Linked DNA regions of Homo sapiens: region 1 is linked to region 2. The links are contacts of gene promoters, found by promoter capture Hi-C in blood cells and fetal thymus (Javierre and others, 2016). All regions are on one chromosome and are shown on one strand. Each heading gives the region's core, a stretch centred on a gene start or on the middle of the fragment in contact. The rest is flanking DNA. Distances are from core to core; before and after follow the strand shown. Region 1 overlaps LOC105370273 (a long non-coding RNA gene). Region 2 holds the start of OBI1 (ORC ubiquitin ligase 1).

The links. Contacts are between HindIII fragments. The CHiCAGO score rates a contact against its expected background, and 5 or more counts as called.
Region 1: a fragment that was not itself captured here is called in contact with the fragment with the promoter of OBI1 in region 2 in 3 of 17 cell types (M1 macrophages, M2 macrophages and M0 macrophages); the score reaches 8.4 in M1 macrophages.

The regions. Positions count from the first base shown.
Region 1 is chr13:78,973,395-78,979,197 of GRCh38, forward strand. The region is part of intron 2 of LOC105370273 (a long non-coding RNA gene); the gene reads right to left. Among named protein-coding and RNA genes, the nearest start is that of LINC00331, 140 kb to the left of the region's middle. The HindIII fragment of the contact is 1,356 bases long and covers 3,602-4,957 here.
Region 2 is chr13:78,655,484-78,661,368 of GRCh38, forward strand. It overlaps OBI1 (ORC ubiquitin ligase 1), which reads right to left and starts at 3,672. Exons shown (of 6, transcript NM_024546.4): 1 at 3,566-3,672. The coding sequence starts at 3,637. RefSeq lists enhancers at 2,080-3,040, 2,951-3,030. The HindIII fragment of the contact is 7,616 bases long and covers 1,976-5,885 here.

The DNA.
Region 1 (5,803 bases), core at 3,030-5,529, 320 kb after region 2:
GTGTGGAGTTAGAAAAAGTAAGACCACAACAAAAAAATCAACGCCTTTTTAAATTATGAAAGTAAAATAAATTTCTTATAGAATTTTCAAAAAAAAGTAACAGAAAATCAAAATGATCCAGTCCTCTCTCTAGCTTTTCTTTGTGATTATATGTTTCATAACAGAAATCATGTTGCACACTCTTCTATTAACCTTATCTTATTATCATTTTTTCAAAATTATTTGAAAACATTATTTTTAGTTCAAATATAATATTCCACATATTAATGTATTTATTCCATGTATAAACATTGAAATTATATCTAGCTTATTTTTCATTTTATAAAAAAAAGTCTTTGCCCCAAAATGTAATTAATTCTCTGGAGTTTGTTTCTCAAAGTGAAATTACTGGCTCAAAAATTAAGAATATTAAAAATACATCTGACAACATGTATTGCCAAACAGCTTTTAGAAAGTCCATTTCTGGCCTGGGGTGGTGGCTCACACCTGTAATCCCAGCACTTTGGGAGGCCAAGGCAGGAGGATCATCTGAGGTCATGAGTTCAAGACCAGTCAGGCCAACGTGGTGAAACCCCGTCTCTACTACAAATACAAAAAAAAAAAATTAGCCAGGCGTGATGGTGCACACCTGTAGTCTCAGCTACTCAGGAGGCTGAGGCAAAAGAATCACTTGAACCTAGGAGGCAGAGGTTGCAGTGAGCCGAGATCACACCACTGCACTCCAGCCTGGGAGACAGAGCAAGACTCCATCTCAAAACAAATAACAATAACAGAAAAGAAAGTCTATTTATGTTGCATTCTTATCTGCTGAACATTAGAACACAGGGCTGTCCCACGTTCATTATGAAATTGAAAAATCTTTAATAACAAGTAATTGAAAAAATCATTTTAACTTTATTTGATTACTACTGAGTAATTTTTATATCTTTATTGTCCATTATATTAACTATTTTGTTTCTTAATTGTTAATAGTTGTTGCCTACTTTTCTATTGGCACATTGAGGATTTTCTAACTAGCCTCAAATATTTCTTATTCATTTAGGATGGTAGTTCTGTGTCTGTTACATTCACTGCAAGTATTTCTCCCAATTTGCCAACGGTCTTTTTATTTTTTATGACTCTTTTACATACAAGAGTTAATTTTTTTCACTTAAAATATCTATTTTCCTTTTCCTTCCTTTTGTGCTTAAAAGTCCTTTACATACTTGAGATCAATTAAATAGTCACTGTATTTTCTTAGCTTGTTTTGGTTTCAGGTTTTACATTTAAGTCACCAATTTATTTTATACTTATTGTGGCTCATAGTGCCAGTTGAGTATTAACTAAAATGATTTCATCTGTAAAAGGAAAGGCTAACTGAGAGTAAAATAAGGAGGGACCTCAAACAGTAGAGGGAGTATCACACGAGTGAAGTTCCATCTCCTCACCTGCAAACCAAAAGATACGACTACCTGACAGTGGGGAAGAAATGAGACTTCATAAAATGCTTCACATAATAGTGAGTGACATAAAAGGACACTGAGGTCTTTCCAAACAATTGTTTTTAAACATCATTTGGTATGTGATACTTTCTTATTAGAAAAGAAGTTATCCTAGGTCTGCTGAAAGACTATATCTTCAATTTGCTGATTTTTCTGTAATTCTTCCTCCACTGCTGCAGTTTTATTAGTCTGTTTTATAACAAGTAAAAGAAGTCCCCTGAAGACCAGCCTGGCCAACATGGTGCAACCCCATCTCTACTAAAAATACAAAAATTAGCTGGGCATGGTGGTGCACACCTGTAATCCCAGCTACTCAGGAGGCTGAGGCAGGAGAATCACTTGAACCCGGGAGGCAGAGCTTGCAGTGAGCGGAGATCCCGCCACTGCATTCCAGACTGAGTGACAGAGCGAGACATTTTGTCTCAAAAAACAAACACCTGAATCCTTTTTATTTTTTGAAGGGTTCTTAATTATTTGTTTTATTCTTTTGAATGAATTTAATACTTGTATTATCTCCCTCCACTCCAAACCCACTGGGATCTTTGTTGTAATTTCCTTAAATCTAAAAATTAAATTGTAAAGATGTGCCATCCTTATCATATTGATTTACCCATAAGGAAAGAAAAATAATGGCTAAGTTTTGTGAGGGCTTGCCATATGCCATGTGCCAATACCAGGTATTTTCACCACCAAACTCATATTATCTCCACAACAGTTTTCAGAAGAAAGTACACATTTACAAATGAGGGCACTCAAGCACAGTGAGGAAAGCAATCCTTCAAAAACATCACTGGCCTAACTAATTGCGTGTTTGTTTTTCTTTGGTACACATTATCACAGCCTACTCTCTACCTCTTTCCCACTTTCTCATCCTCACATTTTTTTCTATTTTTCCATTCCTTTCCAAATTCTCCTTTTTTTATGAGACAGTCTCACTCTGTCACCCAGGTGGGAGTGCAGTGGTGCGATCTCAGTTCACTGCAACCTCTGGCTTCAGGGTTCAAGCGATTCTCCTGCCTCAGCCTCCTGAATAGCTGGGATTACAGGCACATGCCACCACACTCAGCTAACTTTTGTATTTTTTAGAAGCGATGGGATTTCACCATGTTGGCCAGGCTGGTCTTGAACTCCTGACCTCAAGTGATCCTGCCACCTTGGCCTCCCAAAGTGCTGGGATTACAGGTGTGAGCTGCCGCACCTGGCCCCAAATTCTCCTTTCTGTATCTACTTTGTCTTCCTCATTTTTCACGTACATAATTGATTATATTATACTACTAAGAAGTTTAAATTTAATTGATTTGAATTATTATACTTTATTAAGGAAACAGCATAAGGGCTCTCCTGACTTTTGTTGCAAGCCAGCCTTCTTTATCACACCCTCAACAACATCTCCACAAAAAGAAATCTACAACTTCTGATGTAGACTCTGGAGCTAAATAGAAAATCAGAATCTATAAGACACAGGGAAGAGAGAAGAGGGAGCAGAAGGAAAGTTTCAAGATTTATTTCTACCACCTACGTTTAATTTCATGGAACCTGAGAGCTTATTTGTTCGCTTTAACATTATTTAGCACCTACTGTATACTGGCATGAGAATCCTGAGGCTTTATCGTTTATCTGTTAGACCTACTATGGTGTTATTCAGTTGGAGAGGAGGAAAACCTCCTGGTTCCTAAAGCACCCAGGCTATGTCAGGGAGGAGTGGAGCACTGTCTCCACTTGGCCCCTATAGAAGTAAATCTTCACTTCACCACTTATCCTTGAGCAGAAGAGGACTGTAGTTGATGATTCACATGAGAGGATGACAATTCAATCTCAATTAGCGTAGATTCTTGAAACATTTCCAGGTTGAAGTAGCTATTCTCAGCCCTCCATAGGCTGGACTGTCCTCCCCAGAGGACTTCTTAGAATTCAATTCTGGCCCATGAGACCAACACCAGATCTAAGCCTAGCTGGGCGTACCTGAAGCCTCAGCATGCCCCAATGTAACATGCAGGCGTTTGGCCATATGGTGTCCCCTGAGCTTGCCGTTCTCTGATTTATGCCAGAATGGGCATATGCTGGGATATTTCAGGACCCTGAGGGGAGAGTCAAAATGTCACACAGCCAGTATGAGGTTAAGCTTCCATTTCTGTGGTTTATGGCTTAAGTAGAAATGGAACCGGAGGGGACAAAAAAATGCCATTATTGATTCTAAAGCCTAGAAGGTTGAGGTTAGGGCATATAAGATAAAACGTTTAGGTTCTCTGAGGTGTGACCTATTTATACCTGTAAAATAGCCTTCAAAAATGTCCAACAAGGAAAAAGATGTATATTTGTATATATTACCCACTTGGCTTCACTTAAGCCTACTTTCTTCATATTCTGTAAAGAGAAATATCTAGAATCTGGTTTTTAAGTGGTGCCTTTTTTTTTAAGGGGGACTTAGTAGGGAAGGGTGCTCATAGGAATGAGTCATCGCTTCAGGATTTATGCTTATTAAAAAGTAAATATAGACTTTTCTCTGTGTTGCTATTTGAACTCCCCATGACTAAGTGATGGTTTAGTTCAACCAATGTTAGATGCCGCCTATACGTAGGGGCTAAGTATGCTTCCCAGTTGGAGAGGGTTGCCCTCCCAATAAGCATTCTGACAGGCATATTGGACTAAGGACAGAGGACATCATGTGGGGGCAGGAAGGCTGCCAGATGGCAGAGGCAGAAGGAGAGAATGCATAGAAGGCCAAGTGAAAGGAACAATTTACAGGGAACTCCCCCATTTGTGGAGAGGTGTGAGCATGGAAGCATGGAGGGATAATGTGGAAGGGAGCTGTCCCAAATATTGGAAAACAGGAGGTCCATTTTCAATCTAGACCTTCCACCTAAATGAACAAGAAATAATAAATACAAGAATTCACATCAGGGAAATTGGTTTTATTCACAATTGAAGGGTAACTAATTTTAAAGAGTTTACTTGGTGGCCATGAGAAGTGTACGTTTTGGGTATAAAAATGATGCCAATTGCCAGCACTCACAGGTTGTGATGAAATGTTGCCAACTTTTTTACACACTGTTCATTTTTACCATTAAGGCCTCTCATGAATCTTAATAAATCCAGTTTCATAAAATACAAAGGCATGCTCTCTTTTCTCTTAAAGAAAGAAAAATACTAGTGAATTCATGGCCTTTTCTTTATAATGGAACCTGCAATATAAATCTAATGTTTAACGCATCAGAAATTTATAATTTCCTTTTGAATTATATGAATGCACACCACTCAATACTAGTAATTCATTTTGTTAGTTTTGATCAAAGAGTTAATTACTATTTGAATGAAACTCTACTAATGAATGAATATAAAATTAAGATCTTCTCATGATGGCAATCGGTTACAAATAAGACATAAGAAAGATGCAAATCATGAGGCTCCATTTAGGTTTCATGAACCAAGTGCTTCTAACAGGAAGATAAATACAGAGCAATATTCAAGTCCTCTGAAGCTTAAACCAAAACAATATTAATTGTATAGGTGGGGAGGGGAGAGGGGATAAAAAGAAAATGGAAACAAGCAAAGAGTTCTCAGTTTTCAGGCATAGGAAGAGGTTTGTTTATATGTAGTTGAGGACAGACACAAATGCATAAATGAATGTATATAGTGCAATCAGCAGTTATCACAAATCTGCTTGGATTCAACAGTAGAGCTGACAGAACTTGGTCAATGTTAAGACTGTGCCACCTTCTGGTTGTCATGTGTATGACAGGTGTTCATATTGTTTACAGACTAGCATTTCTGTATTATGCAAAACTTATATTGAAGGGAAACAGCAGATCCATTCCTGGTGCTGTTCACTTTCTCCCCTGGGGACTGTATTGGAATGAGAACACGATCCATAAATGTACTCCAGTGACTGCTTTGCTTGAAAATCTGAGTTTGCTTTTTAAGCTTGATCAACTGTAATGGTATATGATAGTCCAGACACAAGCTCAGACAGCACTGCAGTTGTGAAAGCAGGAGATTTGGTTGCTTGTCTTTTCCCTGGTTGCCACTTTCTGAATTTCTTAGAGCCAGAGAAATGGAGCTCCAGCAACCGAAACAAGGCCTCTGTCAATCAAATAAATCAGATGGGGGAATATACTGTTGTGTCTGCAAAGCTGCAAAATAATAAATACACGTGTAGCCTAATTTCTGTGCAACTGTTAACATGCAATTGGGGCCAAAAGATGATTTGAGGGATTATGTTATGCTTAAATTCCTCCACAGTCTCAGTCGGATCAATTATGGGATCACGGCTTTTGGAGTCCTGGCTGGATGCTAACATACCTTTGCCACCAAGCTGAGCATCC
Region 2 (5,885 bases), core at 2,422-4,921:
AAAATTCACCTTTAAAACTGAAGTAGAGACAGAGGTGTAAATTTTCCAATTTTAAGTGCAAAGACAAAGCATTAACAGGTGAATACCTGGGCTCTCTCTCCTTCCTCTCCATCCCCACTGGCATCTATCTCTTCAGATTTAATGCCCTGCCCTCATCTCTCCCCCTTCATGGTATCCACCTTGTGACCCTCCAGGGATAATGGTCCTTAATTCTGTTGAATAATCAAAAGAGAAGATGCTGACTGTGAGATCTGGGGACATATGGTAACAGTAGCACAAGAACAATTATCTTTAAAAAAGAGCTAGGCACGAAGGACCTTAGGAACATTCTTAGAAGTGGCCAGAGATGCTCTATGTCAGGGAAGCAGAAGCGAACCTGAGGACACGCCAGTTTTAGTATCTCACAGTATAATACGTGTAGGAGGGTGAGCAGCACAATCATACTGAATTTGCTTTCACTATAAAAAAGAAAAGAGACATGGAACCAGCTGAAAATTCTGGATGTACTGTGGCAATTTCCAGAACAAACAGGTCTCATTTGGTTGGGAATGCAAATCTTCATTTTGAAGTGCTCCAGCCTCACAAAGCAACTGGGAAGAACAATTACTGGAAAAGGCTGGTTTCCTCAGTTTGAGGGCTGGCCTCAATGGCTATAGTAAAAGCTAACAGTTATTAAACATTATGTGCCAGACTTTATGCTAAACTTTGCACATGCTTTGTTTAATCTTCTGAAAACTGAAAGGATGGGGAGTTGATGTTATTACCATATTTTTACTGTTACAGATAAGGAAACAGGCTCAAAAGAGTTAAGTAACTTAAGCTGGGAGTGGTGGCTCACGCTTGTAATCCCAGCACTTTGGGAGGCCGAGGCGGGCAGATCACCTAGTTCGGGAGTTCAAGACCAGCCTGACCAACATGGAGAAACCCCGTCTCTACCAAAAATACAAAATTTGCCGGGCGTGGTGGCGCATGCCTGTAATCCCAGCTACTCAGGAGGCTGAGGCAGGAGAATTGCTTGAACCCGGGAGGCGGAGGTTGCGGTGAGCCGAGATCGCGCCATTGCTCTCCAGCCCGGGCAACAAGAGCGAAACTCCGTCTCAGAAAAAAAGAAAAAAAAAAGAAAAAAAGTTAAGTAACTTGTAAAAGGTTGTATGAGTGGTAAGTGGTAGATTAGATTAGAACCCGGCTAGCCTGAATGTAGAACTCAGGCCCTCAGTCACATATCCTTTCTGCTTCCATGGTACCTGGGGGGGGGGGGGGAGGAGCCTGTTTAAAAATCCTTAATTAATTAATTTTCTTTTATTTTTAATTTTTTTTTTTTTTTTTTTTTTGAGACAAAGTCTCACTCTTGTTGCCCAGGCTGGAGTGCAATGGCGCGATCTCAGCTCACTACAACCTCCGCCTCCCAGGTTCAAGCAATTCTCCTGCCTCAACTGGGATTACAGGCGCCTGCCACCACACCCAGCAAATTTTGTATTTTTAGTAGCGATGGGGTTTCACCATATTGGCCATGCTGGTCTCAAACTCCTGACCTCAGGCGATCTGCCCGCCTCGGCCTCCCAAAGTGCTGGGATTACAGGCGTGAGCCACCGCGCCTGGCTTAACCTTTTTGAGCCTGTTTCCTTATCTGTAACAGTAGAAATATGGTAATAACATCAACTCCCCATCCTTTCTGTTTTCAGAAGATTAAATGAAGCATGTGCAAAGTTTAGCATAAAGTCTGGCACATAAGATTAAGACAAAAGTCTTAATCTTTTTATTTTTATTATCTGATTTTTATTTCAGAATAAAGTTAACCAATACAGGAAAAAAAAAACACTAAAAATGCCTGATGTCATGGATGAACTTAGGTGAGGGTTTTACGAAGTAATCTGAAGACAAATGGTAATAATGATAGAGGTTCAACTATGAAGACTCAAAGTCTTAGTATTCTGAAGACACAAATGATAGTATAGAGGTTCAACCACAGACTCTAAGCTTTAATATTCTTATTTTAAAAATGGAAAAACCAGCCCTATCTTAAAGCATTGGTGTGAAGAGTAAACAAAATAATATATGCATACAAAAGCACTCTGTAGTCTGCAAATCACTATATTCTATGAGGTATCACTCTCGTTAAATACAAAAAGTATAGGTTTGGTAAATCAAACAGAACACTGTCAATACAATTGCAAAAGACAGCCTATAACTAATGGAAACTATATATAATGTGTACAAAATACTTCCCAAGAATATTTTTATCAGCCTTTAAAGCCAGTGTTGGAGGAAATTAACTCAGAATTTAACACATATTTCCAGGAACTTTATGTCAGGAGCCAAATGTAGACTGTGGCAAATAGAAACATCGCTTCTTCCCTCCCCCTAGCCGTGCAGGCAGTAAGTAATAGCTCAATGCCAGCTCAAACACCATCCTCGATGAGGCCATCCTTGATCTCTCCAAATTGATCAAGCCATCCCCAATCCATGATCTCCCAGCACATTTGCTATTTCATTGGCATTTCATTCTGACTGCTATCCAGAATTATCAGTTGCTTCCAATGCTGACTTTCTTCTACTTTTTGAATCCAGTAAATTCACACAGAACTTCAAACACCCCAGGCAGATCGTATTGGCCGGCACTCAAATGCTTGCTCTAGAAGTTTGTATTTCTCAAATCTGAGTCTACGGCTCAGTCTGCGCTGGGGGGTAAACACACACCCTGACACACCACAGACGTAAAAATAATTCAGGGTGGAAAAAAGTTGGTGGTTTATCTTTCCCCTTCTTTATCTATTCGGTAAAGAAATGCTCTTTAAAACACCGAAAGTGAGGCACAAATGGAAATGAAAGAGGAGAGGAATGCATTAGAATATTCAAAGCTCCGTTTCTAATTCAGAACCACTTTCCCTACCTTGTTTCACAAACACACTAGGCACCTCTTGCATCACAAAGAGAGAGTATTCTATCTCCTGACTGACCCATTCTTGGAGTTAAAAGCCACACCTCTTATTCTAATACCCTCCAGGAGCACTTACTATTTACTTTTCAAATTAGGAATTCAGAGCAAAGGTCATCCTCAAGGCCAGGATAAAGGCAAAAGGTCTTGGAAATGGAAAAGACTCAATACACAGCACCGTAGGCCCCAGAGGATGAACACTAGTTACAGAGGACTAAGAAGCCCGAGGTGAGGCTCCCAGGAAATGTGTTTTAATGGGCTTCACTACACGCCACGCGAGGCTGCAGAGGGAAGTTAAATATCCCTGCGATGCGTTTCTGATGGGGCCTCCTTCGAGGCCGGTGTCTTGCCAGTGTGAGGCCGCGGGCGGTGGCAGGGCCGTCTCGCCGCCCTCCCGGCAGACCACGGGCCGCTGTCACCCTCCTCCGAAAGGCGCCCAGATGAATCCATTAATCACGGTGCGCTACCCCCATCTCCCAGGACGCGGCCTCCCATCAAGAACGCGGGTTAGCGTTTTCTCCCATCTCCGCGCCTCACGCCCCTTCCCCGCCCCCGCACGAGACGGCCCTCGGCCCCGGCGAGCGACTTATCCAACCCCGTTTTGTAGCTGTGCCCACAATCACCCATTACCTTCCCCAAGCAAATGTGGCACGTGATGGGCAGAGTGAGCGACAATGTAACATTCTGCACGGTCTGAGCCATGGCAGCGTTCAGAATCCCGCCAACACGGAAGTCCCGCCGACCTACCGCTACTCTTCGCCAAGACTGGGCACGCGCGGGCCGGCTACGGCGCCCCGGTAGGGCCATAACCCGCCCAGGAGAGAAAACGAAAACGCGCTTTCGAAACGCGCGATCTCCAAGGCGTTTTCCTTTCATTAAAAAAAAAAAAAAAAAAAAGAAAGAAAGAAAGAAAGAAAGAAAATTCACTGATTAGGGAGCTGCAAGATTCCTGCGAATGTGTAGGAAGGTAGTTTACTACAAGTATCGAGGATCTTGGAAAATCTAAAGGAAAGCGGAATAGTGGAGACAGAAGAGGAAGATACGGAAAGGCGATTTTTTAAATCCCCAAATTGTTTTCGGGGATTGGATGGGGTGAAGGATGGAGAGTTTTTCGCCTAATTATTAAACCCCACACATCCGCCAACACAGCGTAATCAAAACATAGAGAAAAGACATTATCTACACGTTTCAATTTTTTTCAAAACAGCTTTCCACCTCTGTCAGTTCTCTTTCCACTCAATATAATGTGCTTCCAGAGGGCACAATAATTCACTTAAGAAAACAGTGATTGTCTCCTTATCTGTGTCCGAGACGATCCTGATACATTTAATCGCAGCTTTCCCTGAAAATACATTTTTACTGTGGGCTTCTCTGGGTTTTCCACCAAAAGGAGATTAACGTTTTCACGTCTTCATTTCAGGTGCATGGTTGCATATGAAATGTACCGCTGTGTTGTTGAACCCCAAGGGAGAATTTGTGAGGTTATAAGTTGCGTTTCCTACCAACAAAAAAGAAAAAAACCTAAAAGTTCCTAAATTTATCTTAAATGCAGTATAACAAATTTGGAATTTATCTGCAACTTACTTGAAGCGAGGAAGAGCTGATGTGATAAATTACGCTAACAAGTAAAATCTGTGAGTTGAGAGATTTAAAGACAAGACCATCGGGACAACTTTTACTAATCTTTGTGAAAAAGACGCAGTATGACTTCAAGAAGCAGCCTCATGGTTAAGAGAAAGGGGTTCTGGACCTGGGCTGCTTCAGCGGAAATCCCTGCCCCCAACAACTTCCTACCTAAACGGTAGCTCCATGGCTTCTGGCAACTTTTGTTTTGTTTTTTGAGATAGGGTCTAGCTCTGTCACCACTAGGTGCCAACACAGCGACCTCCCAGGCTCAAGCGATCCCATCCGCCTGCCTCAGCCAGCCTCCCGAGTAGCTGGGATTACAGTCATGCGCCACCATGCTTGGCTAATTTTTGTATTTTTAGTAAAGACGGAGTTTCACCCTGTTGGTCAGGCTGGTCTCCAACTCCTGACCTCAAGTGATCCGCCTGCCTCGAGGGTCGGGGAGTGGTTTCCCCATGTTGCCCAGGCTGGTCTTGAGCTCCTGGGCTCAATGGATCCCCCCTCCTTGACCTACCGACAGTGCTGGGATTACAGCCGTGAGCACTATTCTGCACTCTACTTCTGTGAGATCAACTTTATTAGATTGTACATGTGAGATCATGTGGTAATTGTCTTTCTGTGTCTGGCTTGTTTCACTCAACACAGCGTCCTCCAGGTTCAACCATGCCGTTGCAAATGACAGGATTTTATTATTTTTTATGGCTCAATAGTATTCTATTGTAAAGACATTTCTTTTCAAAACATTTCCCATTACTTAATGGGGCAAGTTCATTTCCTTGTAAATCATCTTGTTGATGGGTGTCAATATGTAGTCACAAAGATAATTTTAAAAATCATATCCTGCATTTTAAGTAAAGTATTAAAATTTAGACTATCTCTAACATCTCTTTCCACATTTCATACCATTGTCACAGCTTCTCAGTGTTTCAGTGCACAGTCCATACAGCCATTTCTGTGCTGATGACATTGTATTATAGTTGGTGATGTGTTTGTCCCCACAACAGGCTATGTTTCTTGAGGTCAGGGATTGCATCCAATTTATCTAATGTCTGTAATAGGTTACTGTTCCACAAATAGTAATATTCTCATTTGCTACAGCCTACCTTTATAATAAACTCAGGCTGTTTTATTTTAAACAATTTCTTTACTTGTTTTTAATCTCAAAATGGAAGATTCTATTGCTTTTTGAGAATTATAAAAATAACACATGCTCATTTTAAGAAAAACAAGCCATTAAAAAGTATATAAAATAAGTAAAAGTTCCTCCATATTTCTGCCTCACCTCTGTATCCAGTGTAGAAATCACTATTAACATTCTAGAACA